2 separate regions of the Homo sapiens genome follow, and region 2 is linked to region 1. Evidence: promoter capture Hi-C in human tissues and cell types (Jung and others, 2019). All regions are on one chromosome and are shown on one strand. Each heading gives the region's core, a stretch centred on a gene start or on the middle of the fragment in contact. The rest is flanking DNA. Distances are from core to core; before and after follow the strand shown. Region 1 holds the start of LMAN2 (lectin, mannose binding 2). Region 2 overlaps NSD1 (nuclear receptor binding SET domain protein 1).

Region 1 (7,197 bases), core at 2,818-5,317:
ATGCCTTGGTCCTACACCAGGCCAACTACATCAGAATCACCTGGCAATAAGAGGCTATTTTACAGTTCAGCAGTTTCCACATCTCTGCTTGCAACGAAACGGAATGCAGATGTAATCAACAGTCAGCCGAAACATCATCAAAAATTTTGATAAAAGATCACTGCATGACGTTGGGTTTATAAACCAAAAGAAGATCAAAATATTCAGTGATGCTGCTCTACCAAAACTCCCGCTGTGCCAGGCACAGTGGTGGTGAGCACCTGTGTCCCAGATACTCAGAGGCTGAGGTGGGAAGATTGCTTGAGTCCAAGAGTTCAAGATAAGACTGGGCAACATAGTAAGATCCCATCTATAATAGAAATTTAAAATTTTAAAAATAACCCCATCTCCAACTACTATTTAAGAGAACACAGTTTCTCAGAATTCATGTACATAAAAACAAAAAGTAGAAGTGGTACTGAACTTGTCTTATTCTGACAGTATTATCCATCCAGATGGGGGTGGGGGGTGACATCCTACTGAGATCTCATGTTTCAAAAAATGTTTACTTTTGTATAATTACTCAAAAACTGTGTAATGCATTTACTTTTATCAAGTGTGTACAGATAATTATAATAATCTCAAACAAAATATTAAAAGTTTCAGTCTCAACAAAATTGAAAAGTTTAAATTATTATATTAATTTTACTTGCAGAAGAATATGGTAGGCTAATGAATAACATTTTCAAGCATTAAATATATTGCATTAGGATAATATTCTGTGTGGAAATGAAAGTACAAGTTCAATTAAAAAACTGACATACTGGCCAGGCACAGTGGCTCACACCTGTAATCCTAGCACTTTGGGAGGCCGAGGTGGGCAGATCACTTGAGGCCAGGAGTCGGAGACCAGCCTCGCAAACATGGCAAAACCTCATCTCTACTAAAAATACAAAAAATTAGCTGGACATGGCAGTGCGCGCCTGTAATCCCAGCTACTGGGGAGGCTGAGGCAGAAGAATCGCTTGAACTCGTGAGGTGGAGGTTGCAGTGAGCTGAGATCGCACCACTGCATTCCAGCCTGGGTGATAGAGCATGACTCTGTCTCAAAAAAAAAAAAAAAAAAAAAAAAAACCTCTACTAAAAACACAAAAACTAGCTGGGCGTGGTGGTGCACACCTGTAATTCCAGCTACTCAGGGGGCTGAGGCAGGAGAATCACTTGAACCAGGAAGGCGGAAGTTGCAGTGAGCCGAGACTGCGCCACTGCCCTCCAGCCTGGGTGACAGAACAAGACTCCGTCTCAAAAAAAAAAAAAAAAAAAGTGGATATCAAATTGCAATATTTAGATTCCACTGAATGTTTAAAATACTGAACAGTTTTAGTTTAAAATGTCAATATTTAAAATATGCTGTCATCCTTTGCAAATACTTAAACCTAATGACAAACAATTTTTGATGCCAACTTTTCAAAAGGTTGCTACAACAGCAAAGAAAGCTTAAAGACCACTGCCGCAGCCTCCGCACAAGACCCCCAAAAGGACAGGGCCTGAGCAGCCTCCCCAGGTCCTATGCTGCAGCCACCAGGCACTTAAGAGTTCTAGTCAACTCTGAGCCACTCCTTCATCTAGACCACCCCCCCTGCACCACAGCAGGAGCTATTTTATGGCTGCTCAGAAGACAGCAGGTGTTCAGGGAATGTTCGCCTGAGTGCATGCCTCTCCCGGATGGAGTGAATGAAGGAGATAAAAAAGGGAAAAGTTTAGGAAGCATCTCTCCAGCTCATTAAAGGAAGAGGCAGTTCTTGGGAAACACTGAACAGAAAATTCTGATTTCCAAGCCATTTCTTTCCAGAGTTTACAGGAAGCACTCCAAATGTTTCAGGAATATCAGCAGAGCCAAATAGAAAGGTGGAGGAAGGAAGGCAAAACAATTGTACTCCAGACTGAAAATTCGATGAAGGCAAGTGCAGAAGCCTCTCAGTCCTGTGACATCCTCGAGCCACTGATGATGCCAACCATCAGCTATCTACAACCAAAATGTAAGCCACTGTCTTAGATGCGTCTATTACTTGTGGCTACTCCTGATTTCTACAGTTCCAGCACTGTTTGCACCTTGCTTTCAAAAAATAATAATAATGCTATACTGAACTCATTTCCATGAAAAATATAAGGCTGAATTATCATTTCTTTAAAATATCTGAAAGCCCTAAGACAGAATGTGACAGAATGTGACTCGGGGGAGATAGGGTGGTTAATGAAGAAATGTCTGCGTGGGTGGCACTTGAATTGAGACTTAACAGATGAGAAGGAACCAAGCAGGCATGAGGAGCCAGGAGGCAGTGTCCCAGACAGAGGGAACAACAGGTGCAAAGGTCCTGAGGCAAGAAGGCAGCCAGGGGGGGCTGGAACAAAATTAACACAGAGAATGACTGGAGATGCACAAGGGGCCAGATTGTGCAGACATAATGCATGCTTACCCCTTCACAGGGGACTCCACGCTCTGAGGATCAGACTGAAAGCTGAAGAAAGTATCCGCAGATGCCACTAACAGCAGTGTGGAGGCTCGGGGCAGGAAGGAGAGGAGGAGCAGAGGGGACGGGCAGACCAGGCAACACAAGGACAGTGTGGGTTCCCAGAACTAAACAAGAAAGTCAACCAGCAGGGATCAGAGAGCAGGGTGATGGAGAAAACTAGAACACTGGCCAACAGCTTAAGCCATGGGAAGGGCTGAGATTAGGCAAGCTGGGGCAGGAGCAGGTCCCGCTCCAAGCTGTAACCCAGCCCCAAATTATTCTTCTTTCCCCTTTTTCCTCACCTTGACTGCCTCAGTGTGGATTCTGTGTAGCAGCTGTCATTGGCCACTGCTCACATACTACATACTACATACTCTGAGGCAAAGGTCACAGACACTAGAACTGCCCACAGGTCCAGTCCCTCCACACTACTGATGACAAGACCCTCAACCAAGCATTGCAAAAAGGGTTCTAAGGGGTTCCTCCACTGTCCAGGTGAAAAGAGTCAAGTACATCGAGTGAACTGCTGGGCTTAGAGATCAGACAAATCAGAGTTTAAATACTGTTTATGACATTTGCTAGCTGGGTTATCTTTGTATAGTCATGAAAGCCATCTATTTCAAACAGCTTGTTTGAAAATTAAATGCAATAAGGCATGGCAAGGTCAGTGCCTAATACACAGCAAAACACCCAATAAAGATCCAGTTCGCTCGGTTCTTCCCATTACTGAGGGGGTTCAAGGCAGACAGCCTGACAGTTCCACTACTTTCTGGCTATGTAACTTTGGGTAAGGCCCTTTCAAACCTGAGTCTTAGCTTCTCAGTGGGTAAAATGGAGATAACATTACTCATCTCGCATGGCTTTTAAAGTGAGGAGGATGTAAAGTGTCAAGCGCAGCTCCTGACACATAGTAAGTACCCAATACCCATCGCCTCTTATTATTGGTGGGTGTGACCGAGATGAGGAAAAGGCCAGGGACGGAGGTGCAAACCTATAAACGAAGCTGGGGTCTCAGCTGCTCGGGAGGCAGGGACTAGCAGCCAACCGCACAGTACGCCTATCCTCTTGAGAACCACTCACCTGGTGGTTCCAGATAGAGCCCTCTTTGCTGCGCTCGTCAGGGGTCAGACGTACGTACTGGCTCGTGAGCATAGTGCTGCCCTGGAAGTCCCAGAGGGGCATAGAGCTGGAACCGACCCCTGTGGGAAGAGACAGGTGCTAAGAGGCCACGCCAGGACTGGCCTCACCAGAGGCAGGAAACCCACAGAGATGCTCTGCTCAGGAGAAAGGGCACGCCTTCCCCTAGCCCTGTTCAGCCTCGCCCTCACTCTTCACTCATTCCCGCCCCAAGGGCTTCACCTTGGTAGGGCTTAATGAGCGAATGCTCCCGCTTGAGATGTTCACTGTTGCCGTCAGTTATATCCGCAGTCACAGACCCCAACAACAAAAGAAGAAAGAGAGGTGTAGTGGGGCCAGGGCCGGGGCCGAGAAGCCCAGGCCTTCCCAGGCACCGCCGGCCCCAGCCCCAACGCCAAATCCAGCCTTCCGCCGCCATTCTCCTCTCCTCTCGGCCACTTCCGCCCTAGAACTTCCGCCTTCCGGGGGTCCCATCTATTGGCCTCCGGCCGGAAGCTCTTCAACTTTACTGTCGCCAGGGAGTCAAAAAGCAAAGCCTCCGCAGCAGACGGGGCGGCAGCTGCATTGGCCGGGCAGCCTCTCATCCTGGTTGAGTGCAGTTTCATCTCCTTAGAGGCTCCAAGGCACACGCCGGCCAGCCCCAGCAATGGGTTCTTTCGAGCGACAAGAGCTGTAACCAGTCACGGAACAGCACGTTAGGCTTGCGAGCCAATGAGGAGCAGAGGGATGGTTGGAGCCGGCGGGAGCGCGAGGGCCGTCCGCGACTCGGGGCATGCTGGAATTTGTAGTTTTTGTCGGTCGCTCTAATGGGGCGGATTCGCGAAGACTAGGACGTCTTGGGCTTCTGGCCGCAAGTCCCGTCTCTGGAATAACCTTTTCTAGTCCTGGAGAAAGGAGCTCTGAATTGAAGGCGGAGTCCTGCATTCCAACCCTTGTCCTCCCCGGGTGGCCCTGGGCAAGCCTTTAAGCCGTGCCTGCCGTCAGGCGCCCCAGCTTCGCGCCTTTGGAGACTCAGAATTCCCAATTATTTGAGGGCCTCCACTACCCTCAACTCCTCAGGCCTAGTCGGGTTGAAGCAAGAGGAACAGACACAGATCCTGGCCTGGGACCCCAGTGATGACTGGAACTCATCCCTATGCAAAAGAGCGCAGTGCCTGGTACAGCAAGTAACGTCCATGGAAGGCCCAGGAAAGCTGTGAATCAGAGGTCGAAAACTGGTGGCCTGCAGCTGAATAGAGCTCTGTTTTACCTGCCAATATTCTAATAAATGGCTTAACTACCAGTATTTTAAAGTCAGAATATAGAGGCTGGGCGTGGTGGCTCACGCCTGTAATCCCAGCACTTTGGGAGGCTGAGGCCGGCGGATCACGAGATCGGGAGATCGAGACCATCCTGGCTAGCACGGTGAAACCCCGTCTCTACTAAAAAATACAAAAAATTAGCCGGGCGTGGTGGCAGGTGTCTGTAGTCCCAGCTACTCGGGAGGCTGAGCCAGGAGAATGGCTTGAACCCAGGAGGCAGAGCTTGCAGTGAGCCGAAATCGCGTCACTGCACTCCAGCCTGGGCGACAGAGCGAGACTCTGTCACACACACACACACACACACACACACACACACACACACACACAAAGTCGGAATATGTACATTCACATCAGAAATCCAGACTTCCGGCTGAGCTCAGTGGCTGAGGCCTGTAATCCTAGCACTTTGGGAGGCAGAGGCGAGCAGATTACCTGAGCTCAGGAGTTTCAGACCAGCCTGGGCAACACGGTGAAACCCCGTCTCTACTAAAATACAAAAGAAATTAACGGCGTGGTGGCGGACACCTGTAGTCCCAGCTACTCGGGAGGCTGAGGCAGGAGAATTGCTTGAACCCAGGAGGCAGAGGTTGCAGTGAGCAGAGATCACGCCATTGCATTCCAGCCGGGGCGACAGAGCAAGACTCTGTCTCTACAAAAAAAAAAAAAAAGAAGAAGAAGAAGAAGAAAAGAAATCCAGACTTCCGTTTTTTTACCCAAAAAAAAAAAAAAAGAAGCAGCAGCAAAAGATCTAGGCACACATTCCCACAACAGAACAATAGGCTGGAGCTGAATGGGACTGCCCCTCCACCAATGCCTTCCTCTTCTAAGCTGGTCCCCACCTGGTCACTCGTTTACAGCACTTGCCTGGCTCCTCCAGACATTTGAATCAATGACTCCTGTTGTAGATCACAGGGAGGGATGTTGGTTGCTTGCTCCTTTTAGAAACTGCCCTCTTGAATGAATGGACTTATTCAGGATTGAGTGCTGAATCTTTTCTTGGTCATATATTTTTCGTTCGCTTTTTTATTATTAAAGTCACACATTCTGGTCAGGCACGGTGGCTCACACCTGTAATCCCAGTAGTTTGGGAGGCCGAGGTGGGTGGATCACTTGAGGCTAGGAGTTCGAGACCAGCCTGGCCAACATAGCGAAACCCTGTCTCTACAAAAAATTAGCTGGGTGTGGTGGTGCACACTTGTAATCCCAGCTACTCAGGAGGCTGAGGCACGAGCATCACTTGCACCTGGGAGGTGGAGGTTGCAGTGAGCCAAGATCTTGCCACTGCACTCCAGCCTGAGTGACAGAGTGAGACTCTGTCTCAAAAAAGTCACACATTCTTGTGGTGTGTATGGAAACAGAGAGAGAACAGACATACAAGACACAACAAGCCAGGCATGGTGGCTCACACCTGTAATCCCAGCACTTTGGGAGGCCAAGGCAGGTGGATCACTTGAGGTCAGGAGTTCGAGACTACCCTGGCCAACATTGTGAAACCCTGTTTCTACTAAAAATACAAAAAATTAGCCGGCCATGGTGGCGGGTACCTATAATCCCAGCTACTCAGGAGGCTGAGGCAGGAGAATCACTCGAACCCAGGAAGCGGAGGTTGCAGTGAGCCAAAATTGTGCCATTGCACTCCAGCCTGGGCAACAAGAGTGAAACTCCATCTCAAAAAAAGAAAAGAAAAGAAAAGAAAAGACACAACAAAAGTCTTCTGCCACTCCCCTCGCAAGGAGTGTCCCCTTCCAGAGATTTATCTGCACCCATACAAACAAAAACATGCACATTCCATGGGACCTTCATGGGGCTGGGATTTTTGTCAGCTATGGTCACTACTGAATCCCTGGCATCTAGAATAGTGCTTGTCACATAGGAGGTGATTAATAAGTAACTGGTGAAAGAATGAATATTTGTTCTAGAACCTGGAATTGGGTCATGAAGAATGAGTAGGAGTTTTCCGGGAAAGGTAAAGGCATTCTCAGCAGAGAGAAGAGGAGCTGCAATCTAGGGAGGGATGTGTGAGAGCAGATGAAATACAAGTAGTTTGGAATGGCTGAGAAGTTGGAGTTGGGGGCTGCGGGGGAGCTGAAGCCAAAACTCAAAGGGCCTTCAATTCCCAAGTAAGGAACATGGCCTTTTCCCAGAACTCAATGGGATATTTCTAAGCATGGGAGTGACCAATGTGGATTCCTCTAGCTATGGTGAGGAGAAGAGATTGGAGCGGGGATAATAGGGAGACTGGATTCATCATGATCGGGGGAGAGAGG
Region 2 (7,138 bases), core at 2,684-5,183, 85 kb before region 1:
CTGAGGCAGGCGGATCACCTGAGGTCAGGAGTTCGAGACCAGCCTGGCCAACATGGCGAAACCCCATCTCTGCTAAAAATACAAAACTTAGCCAGGCGTGATGGCAGACACCTGTAATCCCAGCTACTTGGGAAGCTGAGGCAGGAGAATTGCTCTGTTCTGTTGAATTTCACCCTGGCAATGGAAACCGATAGCTTATCTTCACAGGTGTGGGACAGAAAGTCATCCCTATGCTCATCTGAGACAAATGCGTACCTCATTGCTTCCTCTGCCCTATTTATGTAAAAATGCAGTTTCACTGAGCCAGATTAAATTGTGTATTCAGTGAAAGGCTGATGAAGGATTCAAAAGAATGCAACCTTTTGTCTTTTACCTACTTATGACCTGGAACCCCAACCCCCTATCAGAACCAATGACAATGTTACACATACTGATGTCTCTTATCTCCCTAAAATATATAAAAGCAAGCTGTACCCCCACCACCTTAGGCACATGTTGCCAGGATCTCCTGAGGTTGTGTCATGGACGTGATCGTCACCTTGGCAAAATAAACTTTCTAAATTGGTTGAGACTTGTCTGACATATTTTGAATTCACATCACTAAGGAGATTTGTATTATCAGGTGTATGTATATGCCAATAATTCTGTAAAAGAAGAATTTTCCTTACTTGAGATATATTGTTTCTGTAGCCAAAGACTGGAGTTTAGTTAATTCTGGAAGCTTTTTTTACTTAGTTGAAATCTGACAGCTAGTACACAGTCAATGGATTGGTAAAACTGCTGCCACCTTAGTATAAACCAAGGCACTACCTCCAAACCAATACAAGTAAGCAGTCATCGTGTTCTGTATCATCACCTACTCGCAGTAAAAGCATGGCAGTTTCACCTTAGAAGTTTCTTGAAGTAAAACACCTTAGTTTTATTATATCTTGTCCATGAAGTCAACATTGTTTTTCTATTCTCTGTGATGAAGTGGGAAGTACACGTAAAGCAGTTTCTTTGCATACTGATGGTTATCTTGAGTTAAAGCACTCATGCAACTGAGTTTCAAGCTGAACTATCCACATTGTTCATGGAACACCGTTTTTAATTGTAAGAGTTACTGATAAACTATGGTTATTCATGCTTGGATATTTGGCAGACATTTACTTGAAAATGAACAACTGTGAGCCTATCAATTCAAGAAAAAGAACTGCAAAATAATGGCGAATGATAAAATTTGAGCTTTTAAGTGAAAATTAAAATTTTCGTAAACTATTGTCTGCTACCTTCAGTTTGACAATTTCTTAGTACTTACTGATTGGATCATGGTAGTATTAATAAATGTGATTTTAAAAGTATAATGAAATAGGCCATTTAGAAGATGCATATGACTCAATGAACCAATTTTTTTTTTTTTTTTTTTTTTTTTTGAGATGGAGTCTGGCTGTGTCGTCAGGCTGGAGTGCAGTGGCGCTATCTTGGCTCACTGCAACCCCCACCTCCCGGGTTCAAGCGATCCTCCTGCCTTAGCCTCCTGAGTAGCTGGGACTACAGGCATGTGCCACTATGCCCAGCTAATTTTTTGTATTTTTAGTAGAGATGAGGCAATATTTTTAATATAGCTAATGCATGATGTTAAAAACTTTGCATATGTAAAAGATGCATTCAAAATAGAAGACAGATCAATGAATTTTAGTGTAGTCATTTTAAGTTTAGTGACATAGTTTCAGTTTCCACATTGCAACTATACACTGTGGAGTTTTAGCATAGTATCTAAGAATGAATATCCACAGTTCTGAACAGGTTATTTTAGCACTCTTTTCCAGCAATATATCTCTGAGAGGCCATACTTTCTTCACGTATGTCAAACAAATAACATATTGCAACATAATTGTTCTTCAGACTTGTTTTTTAGCAGCAGACACATTTCCAAATGTAATCTTACTCTGAATCTGAGCTTCACTATACAATACAGACAAAAGTGAGCTTTTCCAGTTGAAGTAGGAGTCTGATCTGAAACACACCCCTGGCCCCAACAAAAACAAATAAAACTCCCACTCTTATTTTAAGAGCTTGTTGAAGAGAATTATTAAGTAAAGGCCCTTTTGGCCGAAACTGCCATCTTCCTGTAATTCGCCAAAATGACAAACACAAAGGGAAAGAGGAGAGGCACCCAGTACATGTTCTGTAGGCCTTTTAGAAAACATGGAGTTGTTCCTTTGGCCGCATATATGCGAATCTATAAGAAAGGTGATATTGTAGACATCAAAGGAATGGGTACTCTTCAAAAAGGAATGCCCCACAAGTGTTATCATGGCAAAACTGGAAGAGTCTACAGTGTTACCCAGCATGCTGTTGGCATTGTTGTAAACAAACAAGGGCAAGATTCTTGCCAAGAGATTTCATGTGCATATTGAGCACATTAAGCACTCCTAAGAGCCAAGATAGCTTCCTGAAACATGTGAAGGAAAATGATCAGAAAAAGAAGCCAAAGAGAAAGTTAACCTGGGTTCAACTGAAGCACTAGCTTGCTCCACTCAGAGAAGCATACTTTGTGAGAACCAATGGGAAGGAGTCTGAGCTGCTGGAACCTATTCCCTATGAATTCATGGCATCATAGGTGTTAAAAAAAATAAAAGACCTCTGGACTGTTAAAAAAAAAAAGCAAAAGTCAGCATGGGAATAAATTATATATAAAGTGCCAACAGAAGTATGTTTATAGTAAGAATTTTTTTTGTTTCCCAGCTGAAGATTTATTGGCATAAATGCAGCCATCTAAAAACATAAGTTATGAAAAACAGTCATGATGTGCCCTCCCCATCCCCCCAGCCCAGGCCCCTAAAACCTCCTCTGGGGGAGGGAGGGAGAGAGAGAGGAAGGGGGAGCCCCACAACCGTCTAGGAATGCTCAGCCCCTGGGCCCGTGCAGGGCGGGAGAGCCGGGCCTCAGCACATCCTGTAGTCTGTGGAGCAGGACAGGTCGCACAGATGGCCCCTGAAATCTAGGTTGATGGTGAAGTCCCGGTCCCAGTTCTTGGCGTTGGGCCGCATGCCGATGGTGCCGAAGATCTCCTCGCCCGTCTTCAAGGTCAGGTAGTCCTCCATGTAGAACACCGTCTGCTTCCAGTGCGTGTACAGGGACTCGGGTATGGTGGAGAAGCCGGTCCCTCCGGTCCTCTTGTGGCAGTGCGTAAACTCGATGTTGAAGTAGGCCACCTGGGTGTGCACGTAGTCATTCTGCTTCACTTGCAGGCAGAACGGGGAGGTGAAGGTCAGGTCTTCCACCTTGACGGTGTAGATGTCTACCTCCTTTATGAGGCAGGCGTTGGTAACCAGCTGTTTGAGGTCCACCACATCCACTAGGGTTTCCTTGATGGCCACATCTTTGATGCAAGATATATCGAAGCCATAAACGTTCTCCCACCAGTGGATCTTGTAGTCTTTGTACTGCCGGTCCTCGGTGGCCGTCACATACAGTGTGGCCCGTTCTGGGAAGATGAGGCTATTGGGCGCCAGCCACTTGTCCGGGCATAGAGCACAGTGTTGAGCATGGACTCGTAGAAGAGGCAGTTAGCCCATCCACTTGCTGATGATGATGTTCACCTTTTCCACCGGGAGCTCTATCTCCTCCACCTTCCCCTTGGTGATGGTCACCAAGTGGTCTAACTTGTTGGCTTTGACAATCTTCACCGCATAATCAGAGCTACTGGAACACTCGATGCCGATGACCTTGCGGGCCCGGCCTTGGCGGCGAACATGCAGAGGATGCTTGTGTCCGAGCCCACATCCAGCACCACCTTGTCTTTAAAGAGGTGGCGGTTGTGAAACATGGAGTTGCCGAAGTGGGCGTAGGAGTCAAAGTAGTAATCTTTGGACGTCATGCCCTCGACGTTCGGCTTCTCGCTGCTTTCCGCCTGGCCACAGGACACCTCCATGATGCAGTTCACGACCTCGGCGGCCGCCATCTTCACCCGCACCTACTCCTCTTCCGGCCGCCAAGACCCCCGCCTTTTTCTATAGTAGGATTTTAAGAGGTGAAAGAAGCACAGTGAGAACAAGATTAACTCGGATATATTCTTTGCTAAGGCTTTACTCCCCACTTCAGGGTAAAACTTGGAATTACATGTTTGAGTCTAGCATGTTTGAATCATGCTCATTTCTGGCAAGAGCGTGGCTCATTTCTTTTTGGCAACAAAATAAAATGCCTGCCCGTCTGCTGAAACTACTGTGTTTTGAAAGCATTTATATATTTATTTATTTGAGGCAAGAGCCTTGCTGTCACCCTGGCTGGAGTGCAGTGGTGCTGTCTTGGCTCACTGCAACTTCCGCCTCCCAGGTTCAAGCAATTCTCCTGTCTTAGCCTCCCGAGTAGCTGGGAATACAGGCATGTGCCACCACGCGTGGCTAATTTTTTAGTAGATAGGGGGTTTCGCCCTGTTGGCCGGGCTGTTCTCTAACTCCTGACCTCAGGTGATCCACCTGCTGCAGCCTTCCAAAGTGCTGGGATTACAGGCCTGAGGCACTGTGCCCAGCCGAAAAGTTAGTAGTTCTAAAAGGAGGGAAGGAACTAACCATATGGAGATACTACTTATGTGTCAGACGCTACTAGGTAATTTATTAGCTAGGTGAATCTTCAAACAGATGTGGTTATTGTTTATTAGAGAAAACTCCTTACCGCTGAGGAAATTATAGCTCAGCAAGGAAAGTGAATTTCCCAAGGGCCTGTGGTCCTAGAGCTAGAATTCCAACCTGAACCTGACGAGAGTTAAATAAAGCTTATGCTGTTTATACTCTGGTCATTATGTGTCACTGATAATGTTTTTATTTAGTATATCTTTTAGTGAAGAGAAAGAAAATATATATATATATGTGTATGGATGTACACATACATGACTTGCAGTCTTGTGATCTGAATGCCACATTTTTTTATTCCCACAGGAGGCAGCCTTCTGTGCTGTGATTCTTGCCCTGCTGCTTTTCATCGTGAATGCCTGAACATTGATATCCCTGAAGGAAACTGGTATTGCAATGACTGTAAAGCAGGCAAAAAGCCACACTACAGGGAGATTGTCTGGGTAAAAGTTGGACGATACAGGTAAGCCTGAAGAATAGCACTCATCTCTTTTACCATCCTCTGTTTCTTGAGACCTCTCAGATACAATGCTTAACGTATTTCTAATGATCTACTTAATTACTCATGGTACTCCTCCCCTCTTCTTCTTGATTTTTTTCCTTATAGGAAGAGAAACCTAACTTTATGATTTACAATTATAGGAATAATACATGTTCTCTGTCGAAATTTTTTTTTCTTTTGTGTATTTTGTGAAAAGTTTTTTTTTTTTTTTTTAAATGAAAAGACAGTAATAATCTCACAAGGCAGGCGCATTGTTAACATTTCGGCATATGTACTCCCAGACGTACCAATACGCAGTTATGCCCCCCACCATCCAAAATAACTGTTTTTACAGATTATACTCTGTTATGTGTCTTGGGTTGTTTGTTTTGAGACAGGGTATCCTCTGTCACCCAGTCTGGAGTGCAGTGGTGTGATCATTGCTCACTGCAACTTCAAACTCCTGGGCTTAAGGGATCCTGCCGCCTCAGCCTCCTGAGTAGCTGAGACTACAGGTACATGCCACTGCACCCGGCCACTTTTTCTTTTTTAAAATATTTTGATTGAACATCACACACCGGGAACTGTTGTGGGGTGGGGGGTGGGGGGAGGGATAGCATTAGGAGATATACCTAATGCTAAATGACGAGTTAATGGGTGCAGCACACCAACATGGCACATGTATACATATGTAACAAACCACGTTGTGCACATGTACCCTAAAACTTAAAGTATAATAATAATAAAATTAAAAAATATATTTTGATTGAATATGGAAAGCACAAAGGATGTAACATGCATGACTTTAAAGAATGACAAAAGTGGCACCTGTGTATGTACCTCCCACTTAAAGAAATAGAACACTGTTGGTACTTTTGAGGTTTATTCCATGCCCTGATTCCATTCTCTCCTACCCCCAGAGGTAACCACTGTACTCAATTCTAGGTTTTTCATTCCTTCGCCCTTCTGTGAGAGTTTGTTTTCTTTGCTGTGTTTTAGACCTTTATGTAAAGGAATTATTGTTGATACATTTTCCTGCAACTTTTTTCATTCACTTTTATGCCCCTGAGATTCATCATAGTATTGTATAGTGGTTCATTCATAGTTCACTGTTCCTTTATGTAGTCACATAATGTCTAGTTCACTTATCCATTTTCCTGTTTGGACTGTGAACATTTGGTCAGTTTTTCTTGGTTTATATACTTGGGACCTTGAATATAAGTATATACTTATATACAAGTATATATTTGGTTTATATACTTAGGGCCTTCTCTAGGGCATTCTCTGGAGTAAAGTAGGTAGATAGAGGTTTCCAGCTTTAATAGGTAGTGCCAAATTGTCTCCCTAAAGTGGCTGTATAGTAATTTACATTCTTTGATTTTGTTTGTATGTGTTTGTGTTTTGATTTCTTGGTGCTGTTCTCCCATATTCCTACTAATTATTGAAGGTTTCCTTTTTAAAGACCAAATTGTATTTTATTTTGTATAGTGTACCATGGATAATACTATTATTTTCTTGATGTTGAGCATTTATACTTTTTCCAGTTTTTCCTTCTTATAATGCTTCAGTGAATGTTATTGTCATAACTCTCTGTTCCTATATCATTATTTCCTTTAAGTAGAATCCTTGAAGTAGAATAATTGAGTCTAAGGGAGTGCGCGCCTGTGTGGGAATGTGGGCAGATGTTTTCCAGCTTCTAGCACATACGACTTGTTTGTGTTCTAGTTAGGTTGTAAGAATGCCGTAAGATGGACTTTAATGTGGACAGACAGACATTGCTAATCCTTACTTTTATATGAGTAGGTTATTTTCCTAATGCCTTGCAGCCTTCTAGAGGTTTTCCTTCTCCTTTTCACCTTTCCCAGGTGGTGGCCAGCTGAGATCTGCCATCCTCGAGCTGTTCCTTCCAACATTGATAAGATGAGACATGATGTGGGAGAGTTCCCAGTCCTCTTTTTTGGATCTAATGACTATTTGTGGACTCACCAGGCCCGAGTCTTCCCTTACATGGAGGGTGACGTGAGCAGCAAGGATAAGATGGGCA

Evidence for each region. Contacts are between HindIII fragments. The study calls those that stand out against the background at their distance.
Region 2: a contact is called between a fragment that was not itself captured here and the fragment with the promoter of LMAN2 in region 1, in 5 of the 25 tissues and cell types used here (IMR-90 fibroblasts, bladder, dorsolateral prefrontal cortex and 2 more).

Annotation. Positions count from the first base shown.
Region 1 is chr5:177,347,601-177,354,797 of GRCh38, forward strand. It overlaps LMAN2 (lectin, mannose binding 2), which reads right to left and starts at 4,068. Exons shown (of 8, transcript NM_006816.3): 1 at 3,852-4,068; 2 at 3,573-3,691. The coding sequence starts at 4,047. RefSeq lists enhancers at 4,009-4,198, 4,209-4,258 and a silencer at 4,153-4,367. The HindIII fragment of the contact is 12,408 bases long and covers 736-7,197 here.
Region 2 is chr5:177,262,643-177,269,780 of GRCh38, forward strand. It overlaps NSD1 (nuclear receptor binding SET domain protein 1), which reads left to right. Exons shown (of 23, transcript NM_022455.5): 15 at 4,920-5,076; 16 at 6,960-7,138. It also overlaps the pseudogene RPL21P60 and the pseudogene PRMT1P1. Among named protein-coding and RNA genes, the nearest start is that of RAB24, 38 kb to the right of the region's middle. RefSeq lists enhancers at 2,515-3,407, 3,408-4,299, 6,800-7,138. The HindIII fragment of the contact is 7,250 bases long and covers 309-7,138 here.